Linked DNA regions of Homo sapiens: region 2 is linked to region 1. Evidence: promoter capture Hi-C in 16 types of primary human blood cells and fetal thymus (Javierre and others, 2016). All regions are on one chromosome and are shown on one strand. The core of a region is centred on a gene start or on the middle of the fragment in contact, and the rest is flanking DNA. Distances in the headings are between cores, read along the strand shown.

Region 1 (4,512 bases), core at 1,856-4,355:
CTTTGGCAACTTCATCCTTCTAGGTGCTCAGGCCAGAAACTTTGGACTCATCTTTGACTCTTCATTTCTTCATACCCATATTCTATCCTTCAGAAAAAAATCCTGTTAGCTCTGCTTTCAAATTATATCCAAAACCTGTCCACTTCCCGCTCTCCACTGCTACCACCCTGGTCAGTGCCACCAGCATCCTGCCTGCCTAGTTTACCACAACAGCCTCACTGGGCTTCCTGCAGGCTCTACAGTCTTTTATTTTTTTTTCTGTTTTGTGACGGAGTCTCACTCTGCAGCTCAAGCTGGAGTGCAGTGGCGCAATGCTAGCTCACTGCAACCTCTGCCTCTGGGGCTCAAGCAATTCTCGTGCCTCAGCCTCCCGAGTAGCTGCGACTACAGGCACACAACATCATGCCCAGCTAATTTTTTTTTTGCATTTTTGTAGAGACGAGGTTTCACCATGTTCCCCAGGGTGGTCTTGAACTTCTGAGCTCAGGTGATCCACCCGCCTCAGCCTCCCAAAGCGTTGGGATTACAGGCGTGAGCCACCGCGTCCGACCTACAGTCTCTTCTTAACAAAGTAGCTCCAGTGATTATTTTGAAATGTACATTAGATGTTATTATTCTTTTGCTCAAAATCACTCCTCATTTCATGAAAGAGTCCATGAAATAATGTGAAAGCCTTATATAATCCAAAGCCCCTTGTCCCACTCCTTAGTATTTACCTTGCTTGGCTCCGGCCACTCTTGCCTCCTTGCTATTCTCCCAGCAGGCAAGCCCTGCCCTGGAAACTTTGTACTGGCTGTTCCCTCTGTATGGAAGGTTTCCCCTTCACCAAGTGTCTATGTCTCTTGGAAATCTTTACTCAGTGAGGCCTACCCTGATTACCCTATTTAAAGTTGCAATGTACCTCCCCTATACTCTCACTTTCCATTCCCCTATTTTTTCCATGGCGGTGTTAAATTGAACTAAATACCGCCTGAGAAAGCCTCTGCACTTCCATATTTGAGTCCTTGTGGATGAACCATAACCTAACTTAGTAGGTAGACAAGACTGAAAGCCTAATTTAGGAGTGTGCTTCTGTAACAATAGCTGAGTTTCAGCCAATCCCAGCAGCCATACTTCAACTATTCATACAATGCTTACTGTTCAAACTGTGTTCAGGTAAGGCAAATGCCAAGCTGTAACCCATCCAGCTGCTTCCGTACCTCACTTGCTTTTTGTACATCACTTTCCTTTCTTTGTCTGTAAATGTGCTCTGACCACGAGGCATCCCTGGAGTCTCTCTGAATCTGCTATGATTCTGGAGACTGCCCGATTTGAGAATCATTTTTCCCCTTGCTCAATTAAACCCTGTTAAGTTTAATTTGTCTGAAGTTTTAACAGTAGCTTCACCTTTCAACATATGTTTATTATGTTTGCTCCCTAGCCCACCTCTCGCTGTGCAGGGTGAAGAGTTGCAGTGTCTGCCAACAAAAAAGGGGTTCGGACCCACTGAGTTATATAATTAGTAGGTCTGAAACAATATACATATTTTAAAAAACATAAAACTTAAAAATGGTTAAAATGGTAAATTTTGCTGTGTATTTTACCATAATTTAGAAAAAAAGGAAATAAAATCTCACAGCTCCTGTAAAGTAGCATTTCAAGAAATTTTTACTTCAGTTATGTGTGAGTACTTCTACGTCCACAGTTTCAAAGTCTGCAATGTATTTCTTACTATGTCAGGGTCAAAAATACCAGAAAAAATTATGGTGGAGAACCGTCTGCACACACTCACCAGCTGACATGCACAACATAGTTCACAGCAGCAATGTTTAGAACAAAAACTGGAAATAATGCACATGTTAAGAGGCAGCAGGATGGATACATAATGAAGTATATTAAACAATGGAAAATTACGGTCCGGGCGCCATGGCTCACGCCTGTAATCCCAGCACTTTTGGAGACCGAGGCGGGCGAATCACGAGGTCAGGAGTTCAAGACCAGCATGAGCAACATGGTGAAACCCCGTCTCCACTAAAAAATACAAAAATTAGCTGAGCGTGGTGGCGCGCGCCTGTAATCCCGGTTACTTAGGAGGCTGAGGCAGGAGAATCACTTGAACCCGGGAGGCAGAGTTTGCAGTGAGCCGAGATCGCGCCACTGCACTCCAGCCTGGGCGAAGAGCACTACAGCCACCTGTAGGTGAATATGAAAAGCAATGCTGAAAGAAGCAAATTGCTGGAGAATACATACGCAATTCCAAAAGCTTCAAAATTGAACGAAACAAGATAGTGATACATACATTATGTGGTAAAGCTATAAAGAAAACCAAGGCAAGCTGATATAAAAAATTCAGAAAATAATTATTAAAAACTTAAGTCATTAACGTTTAGAGAACTGAAATGTCTCTATTTTCCAAATTAATACTCCTGATAATAGCATCAGGTCTTTCCTGATCTTGCCCACTGTCGCAGCTCCCAGTGACACCCCGTTATTGTATTTATTTTTCAAGGACTGAACCATCTGACAATTTGTATGTGCTGCGTAATACATGTATCCTCAGTAGGGGATAGCTTTCAAGGCTAGCGCTTGGCGACGCTCTGACAGTAGAGTTCATTATCTATTGAATGAATATATGCGCTTTGGCACACGTTGGTTCAGCACTACTCATTTTAGTCCGAATCCTTCTCGTGGCTTCCGTTCAGTCGCCGCCCAAACCCCTGCCCCATCTCGCAGGCTCTAAACTCCCTGGACTCGTTCCCGAGTCCCAGACGTAGTTTTCTCCTAGACTCTGCACTGGGCCAACAGAGTGGGAGAAAGGTGGAAGGTCTGGATTGGGAGAAAAGCGCTTCCCAGGCGTCCAAGCATGTGAAGAGAATGAGGTCTTTTCATTCAACAAGAGACCGTTGAATGAAGGCCCCTCAGCAACAAGGCCCGTCAGCCCTAACGCCATGAGGAACGCGCGGCGCTGACGGTACAGTGGCTGGTTAACTAAACCGGATTGCTACCGGCCACCCCGGTGACGTCACGACCTCCTCGAACTCCTGATTGGAGGAGCTGCGTTTGGTCAATTCTCGCGATGACTCCTCCAGGTTACCCCTCTCTCCCTCCCTTTGCCCTGACCCGGTAGTCGACCGTGGACCGCGCTGCGAGCCTCGGAGACGCCGTAGAAGGAGACCTGCTTCCGGGACTGGACCAGGCGCCTGCGACTCTTCTCAGACGCCGACGTGCACGAGGTTTGGCTCCCAGGTGTCCTGCCTGCCAGACCCGCGGTAGCTCGGCTCGGCCAGTTTTGCTAGGGCTGCCTGGCGAGCCACACCAATTCCCATCCTTTGGTATCGCCAGGATTCGGCGGCTGTGAAACTGATTTCCGGTCGCTAAGGTCTCCATGGAGACAGCACTTTAACCACTTTCTCCCACTGTCATTCCTCGACTCCACGTGGTTCAGAAATCGCCCAGAGAATGTTTGTGGGAGTCAGCCAGGAAGGTGTAGAGTGAAGCAGCGTTCTAAAGGGAAGCAGTAAGTGGGACCTAGGAGGAGTGTAATTTACTGGGCACCTTCTGGCCTTGCGGTAGACACGGGATTTACCCCCTTGGGGACCCTGGTTCTTCAGGACACACGTTTAGGCATCATTTGAGCAGGCATAATTACCGAGTCTGCTTTTGTGTAGCCCTCAGAATTGCAAGAGCAAATCCTCCTGCAAACTTGCTTACCTTTCACCAGAGAATAGTCTCCCTAGTTAGGTTTCCCAGTCTCTTCTGGCTTTGTACGATGGTCACTTTCTTAGGAAGCGTGCCTCTATTCCTCTAGATCTGACTATCCCTTTACAAATTATTCTGTTGTCGACACTTTCCTAGCTGCGTCCATTTTTGGTTAAGTGGTTGCTCACCTGCCATTACTGTATGGATTTCTTACTTCCCAAACAGACCATAGGTTCTTAAGATGTAGAATGTCACTTAGATGTAGAATGCATTTTAGGTACCAGATAGTCCACCTTCCTGCCCTTAAAGACATATATCCCTTCTAGAACATCTCTGACAAATGTTTGTTAATTAATTTGTTTATTCGTGAAGTGTTTGTTAAACACCTACTATGTGCCAGGCACTGGTTTGGAAATTGAGACTTGAAACATGAACAAAATAGATTAAAGTTGCTGCCTTCATTCAGTTTGCTACTAGGTGAGACAGACAATATACAAATTTACAAGTTAGGGTAATTTCTGGTACTAGTAAGTGCTATGAAGAAAATTAACGGAAATGGTGTCTACGTGTGTTGTATTGGTGAGATTTTAGATAGAGTGGTCATGGAAGGCTTTTAGAAGGTAATGTTGCAGCAGAAACATGAATGGTGAGAAGGAGTCAGTCTTGCAAAGATGTGGAATGAACATTAAGGGGCAGAGATACTGAGAAGTGTAAAGCCTCTTAGGTGGGAATAAGAGCATCAGGAAGTACAAAGCTCTTGAGATGGTGAAGAGGAGATTGGTTTGAGATGAAGAGTGGAGGAAGGCAGGGTCAGATTATTTAGGGCCTTGAAGG
Region 2 (4,699 bases), core at 2,172-4,671, 1.1 Mb after region 1:
ATCTTGGCCAGGCTGCTCTCGAACTCCTGACCTCATGATCCACCTGCCTCGGCCTCCCAAAGTGCTGGGATTACAGGCATGAGCCACCGCGCCTGGCCAATTTGGACTTTATTGTATGGACAATTTCTAATTATCTACTTTTATATACTCCTTTTAGGTTTTGTTTGTTTTGTTTTTTTTTGAAAACCTCTAGTTTCAAGAGGAGTTTTGCTCTTGTAGCCCAGGCTGGAGTCCAATGGCACAATCTCAGCTCACTGCAACCTCTGCCTCCCAGGTTCAAGCGATTCTCCTGCCTCAGCCTCCCCAGTAGCTGGGATTACAGGTGTGCACCACCATGCCTGGCTAATTTTTTGAATTTTTAGTAGAAACGGGTTTCACCATGTTGGCCAAGCTGGTCTCGAACTCCTGAACTTGGGTGATCTGCCTGCCTCGGCCTTCCAAAGTGCTGAGATTACAGGCGTGAGCCACCACACCCAGCCACCTTTCAGGTTTTTGAATTTGGGAATGCCCTGATGAAAATGGATGGAAGGAAGAGCTCTGTGGTGGCCTTATTCAGAATTCATAGAGATAGGAAAGAACTGGAGTGCAAAGAGATGAGGTAGAAGGTTGTGGCAGCAATCCAGGCCCTGGAAACAGAGTGAGCAGAGTTTGACATGAGAAAACCTGATTCTAGCCTCTGCCAGGATGCTGCTGCTGGGAATGCTCGGGCTAGTTACAGCCACATCTCTGAAGCTTTGTAACTTCGGAGGGGAGGAAAAAATGGGAGTAATTTGCTTTTTTTTTTTTTTTTTTTTCCTAGGTTCTGAAACTAGAAAACCTCTAGGTTCTTTCAAACTCTAAAATTCTACCTTTAAATTGTAATGCATTCTAAAGATTTAGATATGAAGACCCTAAATACCATCCCGAGTCTAGGAGAGAATCTGGATGTAATACTTCTCAACATTATCTTCTCAAAGTACAAAGAATAGAATTGGCTTTAAGAATGCTCTCTAAACCAGATTATATTGAGACAAGCCTATCATTTCTGCATCACTGTTTTCTTTGTTTAAGAAAACGATTTGGGTATTGCTGCTGCAGCAGTGGTTGATGATATTAAAATCAAATAAAAATATTACTCTTGAAACAAATGAAATGATTTAAGCCTATCTCTCTAAGAAATCGCATGAAAATATACCTAGGAGGCACACATTGTATTGTCATCAAATTAATTTGTTTTCTAAGCTCAAATGTAATTTAAAATGAGATATTTCTTCAACTGGTTCAATCAACAGACAGTAGAAGGATTCTACGGAGAGAACACAGGAAATAAACCCTACAATAATGTTAGAGCAAACAATCGGCACTATAGTTCTGTCTTCTATTGCTTGTGATGCTTCTAGAAAGTATTTTTTAACGGCTTCCTGATGAATTGGCTCTTGGTATCAAGCCAGGCTCATCTCTGGCTCACATCTGCAAACTTTTCCCCATCCTCACGTCCTACAACAAATCCATCTTCAAGACCTGCAAAGTTCTTGGTCTCAGCGTTTCTCAGAACAGACCCTTCTTCATCTTCACAGACACGGGGTTGGGGATCCCATTCCTGGGTTGCGAAATGACCTTCTCCTTAGAATGACCCAAAGTGCAAAGGCATCTTCCTGAAATAAAGCTTTCATCAAGCCATTTCTGCTATGGAAACCTCCAGGGATTCCATTGCTTATGGGATCCAATTTAAATGCTGCAGTTGAGATCCCCATTGTTTCAGTGGGCAAGTGCATTATACTTCTTCACAGACTTTAAACCTCCACATTCGAGATTTTGCTACTAGGAATGTTTTGCCCTTTCTCTGTGCCAACTCATGGCCATCAGCACCTCCAATTCTGTCTTGAAACTCACTTTCTTACAGATATTTTTCTTGTTTAATATCTACTTAGTAGATACTAAACAGCAAAGTAGCAGTATCTACCCAGTAGACACTAAATAGCAAAATAGATACTGAATAGCAAACTATTTAGTAGATACTAAAGTAGCAAATAACTCCTGTTTTTGAGCTTTTAATCACATTTAGTGCTCTTAAGATAAATTATCCAAGTCTGGGGATAAACAACTCACAGAGATTTTCATTCTTTAAGAAGCCACCGAGAGTGATTTTACTTAAAAGACAGCACTCACATTTTCAGTTGTCTGCCTTTTCACTAGGAATCCACTTAAGAACCAGCGCAAAAGGACTCCGTTTGGCGACCTCTAGCGGGCACCGGACAATCCTACAAAATTACGAAAAGTAGAGGGCAATGAAAAACTCTTCCCTTTAACCAGCCAGGTTACCCTGTGGTCAGATGACCGCATCTCACCCTACCCCACCCTTATTTTTTTCTTCTAGTATTTGTTTTGCATCTAACACGGTTCGCCTTACAACTCACCTGTCTCGCCTCCGGCGGGCTGGGCTGCCGGTGTCGGGTGTCAGGTGAATGAATTGCTGGTAGCAGTTTAAAATAATCCCTGCCAAGTGGAACCCGCTTTCTGGGCACGGACAAGAGCGCGGGGTAGATCGCTCTGCGGAGCCTTCACGGGGCTCTTCCCGCTCGGAGGGCCGGTGCTGCAGCCGGGTCAGGGGTGCGCGGGGGAAATCAAGATATTTTGAAAAGGAGGATGCAGACGAAGACCAAGAGAAAGGCTGTTTTTGCCGGTGACAAGGCGTTCCTCCCCAGACTTTCATCCCACTCTAAGGGCAGCATCTCGAGAGGGTCCAGGCGCGCTACACGTTAGGCGCCTTCTCAGGACTCGCGCCCCAGAACGTGGGGGCCGGGGCCGGGTCGGGGACCGCTTCCCTCCGCGGGCTGGCAGGCGGCACCGAGGCTGGGGGATGGGGCGTGTAGCCGCCCTCTGAGCACGCGGTACGTGGGTCGCCCCGCGCGGCGGTAGGAAGAGCAAAGTCGGCAGGAAAAGCCGTGGCTGGGATGCCTTCCCTGAGAAATCCTTAGGGGCGATGTCAGAACCCGAGCTGGGCTCCGGACAGTTTCTGGAAAAAGCTCTCCAAACGCCGTCTGTCCCCGCACCCGAGTCCACACTGGGCTTTGAACCAGGGCTGTTAAAAGGGGCCCTGGGGACTGCCCAATTCATCCCGATGGCCCAGGGCAGGACGCGGGAGCAGGCATCCCGGCGCTGGGCTCCCCGCTCCCCCGCCCTGCGGACCCCTCCCCGCCACTACGGGCCGGAGCGGAGGGGGAGGACGGCGTCACGAGGCGGGGAGCCCGAGGTCCAGGGCGGGGCGCCCGGGAATCCCAGCCCGAGCAAGCCGGGGAGGTGCGGGCGCGGGCGGGAAGCGGAGGGCGGCGCGGAGGGAGGTGAGCGGCGCGCGCGGAGCCGGCGGGCGAGGAGGAGGACTGCACAGAGGCCCCGCCCCCGCCGCCGCGAGCCGGCTCTTCGCCGCCTCCGAACCCGCTCACTTTGCCTCTCGCCTCTGGACGGCGGCGGGGCGGCCGCCGGATTCGCGGCCGCAGGGAGCGCCGGAGACGGGGAGCTATTCCGCCCCGGCGGCTCCATTCGGCGCCCGCAGCCCTCAGGGGGTCGGCCCCGCGGCTTGGGAGAGGGCACCGCGGCCTCGGTGTGCGCAGCCCTCGGGCGCGAGGGTCGGCGGCGCGGACACAGCCGCGTTCCCAGCCGGTGGGGCTCAGCGCTGGCGCCGGCGAGGACTCCCCGGCCACCCGCAGGTACCGCCGGGCGGAGGGCGCGCTACTAGCAGCGCCGGAGATACTCGAGCCCAGGGACCCCCGGGCCAGCGGAGGGCAGGAGCGGAGCCCCGAGGGAGCGCGGGCCCCGACGGCGCGCTCCCCCGTCAGCCACGGGCAGGCAGGCCCCGCGTGGCGGCTTGGGGTGGGGGGCTGCAGCGGGGCCCTCGGGCCGAAAGTCCCCCGGGCGGCCAGCCATGACCTTCGGGCGCAGCGGGGCGGCCTCGGTGGTGCTGAACGTGGGCGGCGCCCGGTATTCGCTGTCCCGGGAGCTGCTGAAGGACTTCCCGCTGCGCCGCGTGAGCCGGCTGCACGGCTGCCGCTCCGAGCGCGACGTGCTCGAGGTGTGCGACGACTACGACCGCGAGCGCAACGAGTACTTCTTCGACCGGCACTCGGAGGCCTTCGGCTTCATCCTGCTCTACGTGCGCGGCCACGGCAAGCTGCGCTTCGCGCCGCGGATGTGCGAGCTCTCCTTCTACAACGAGATGATCTACTGGGGCCTGGAGGGCGCGCACCTCGAGTACTGCTGCCAGCGCCGCCTCGACGACCGCATGTCCGACACCTACACCTTCTACTCGGCCGACGAGCCGGGCGTGCTGGGCCGCGACGAGGCGCGCCCCGGCGGGGCCGAGGCGGCTCCCTCCAGGCGCTGGCTGGAGCGCATGCGGCGGACCTTCGAGGAGCCCACGTCGTCGCTGGCCGCGCAGATCCTGGCTAGCGTGTCGGTGGTGTTCGTGATCGTGTCCATGGTGGTGCTGTGCGCCAGCACGTTGCCCGACTGGCGCAACGCAGCCGCCGACAACCGCAGCCTGGATGACCGGAGCAGGTACTCCGCCGGCCCTGGGAGGGAGCCCTCCGGGTAGGACGCACTGCTTCTCTACCCGTCCCGTCCGTCCTGTCGCGTCTGTCCGTCCCGTCCATACGTCCCGTCTCCGTCCTGTCCGCCTCCGGGCGACCGAGCCAGCGGGGTGCGCGCCCAGCGAGGCCCAGGC

What was found. Contacts are between HindIII fragments. The CHiCAGO score rates a contact against its expected background, and 5 or more counts as called.
Region 2: the fragment with the promoter of KCNG3 here is called in contact with the fragment with the promoter of THADA in region 1 in 5 of 17 cell types (monocytes, fetal thymus, non-activated CD4 T cells and 2 more); the score reaches 12.2 in monocytes.

What each region holds. Positions count from the first base shown.
Region 1 is chr2:43,594,631-43,599,142 of GRCh38, reverse strand. THADA (THADA armadillo repeat containing) reads left to right here and starts at 3,105. Exons shown (of 38, transcript NM_022065.5): 1 at 3,105-3,212. The HindIII fragment of the contact is 4,194 bases long and covers 2,245-4,512 here.
Region 2 is chr2:42,492,704-42,497,402 of GRCh38, reverse strand. KCNG3 (potassium voltage-gated channel modifier subfamily G member 3) reads left to right here and starts at 3,421. Exons shown (of 2, transcript NM_133329.6): 1 at 3,421-4,566. The coding sequence starts at 3,902. It also overlaps a transcript of MTA3 not described here. RefSeq lists enhancers at 2,100-2,394, 3,719-4,476, 4,477-4,699 and silencers at 3,149-3,228, 3,319-3,368, 3,549-3,638. The HindIII fragment of the contact is 17,203 bases long and covers 1,648-4,699 here.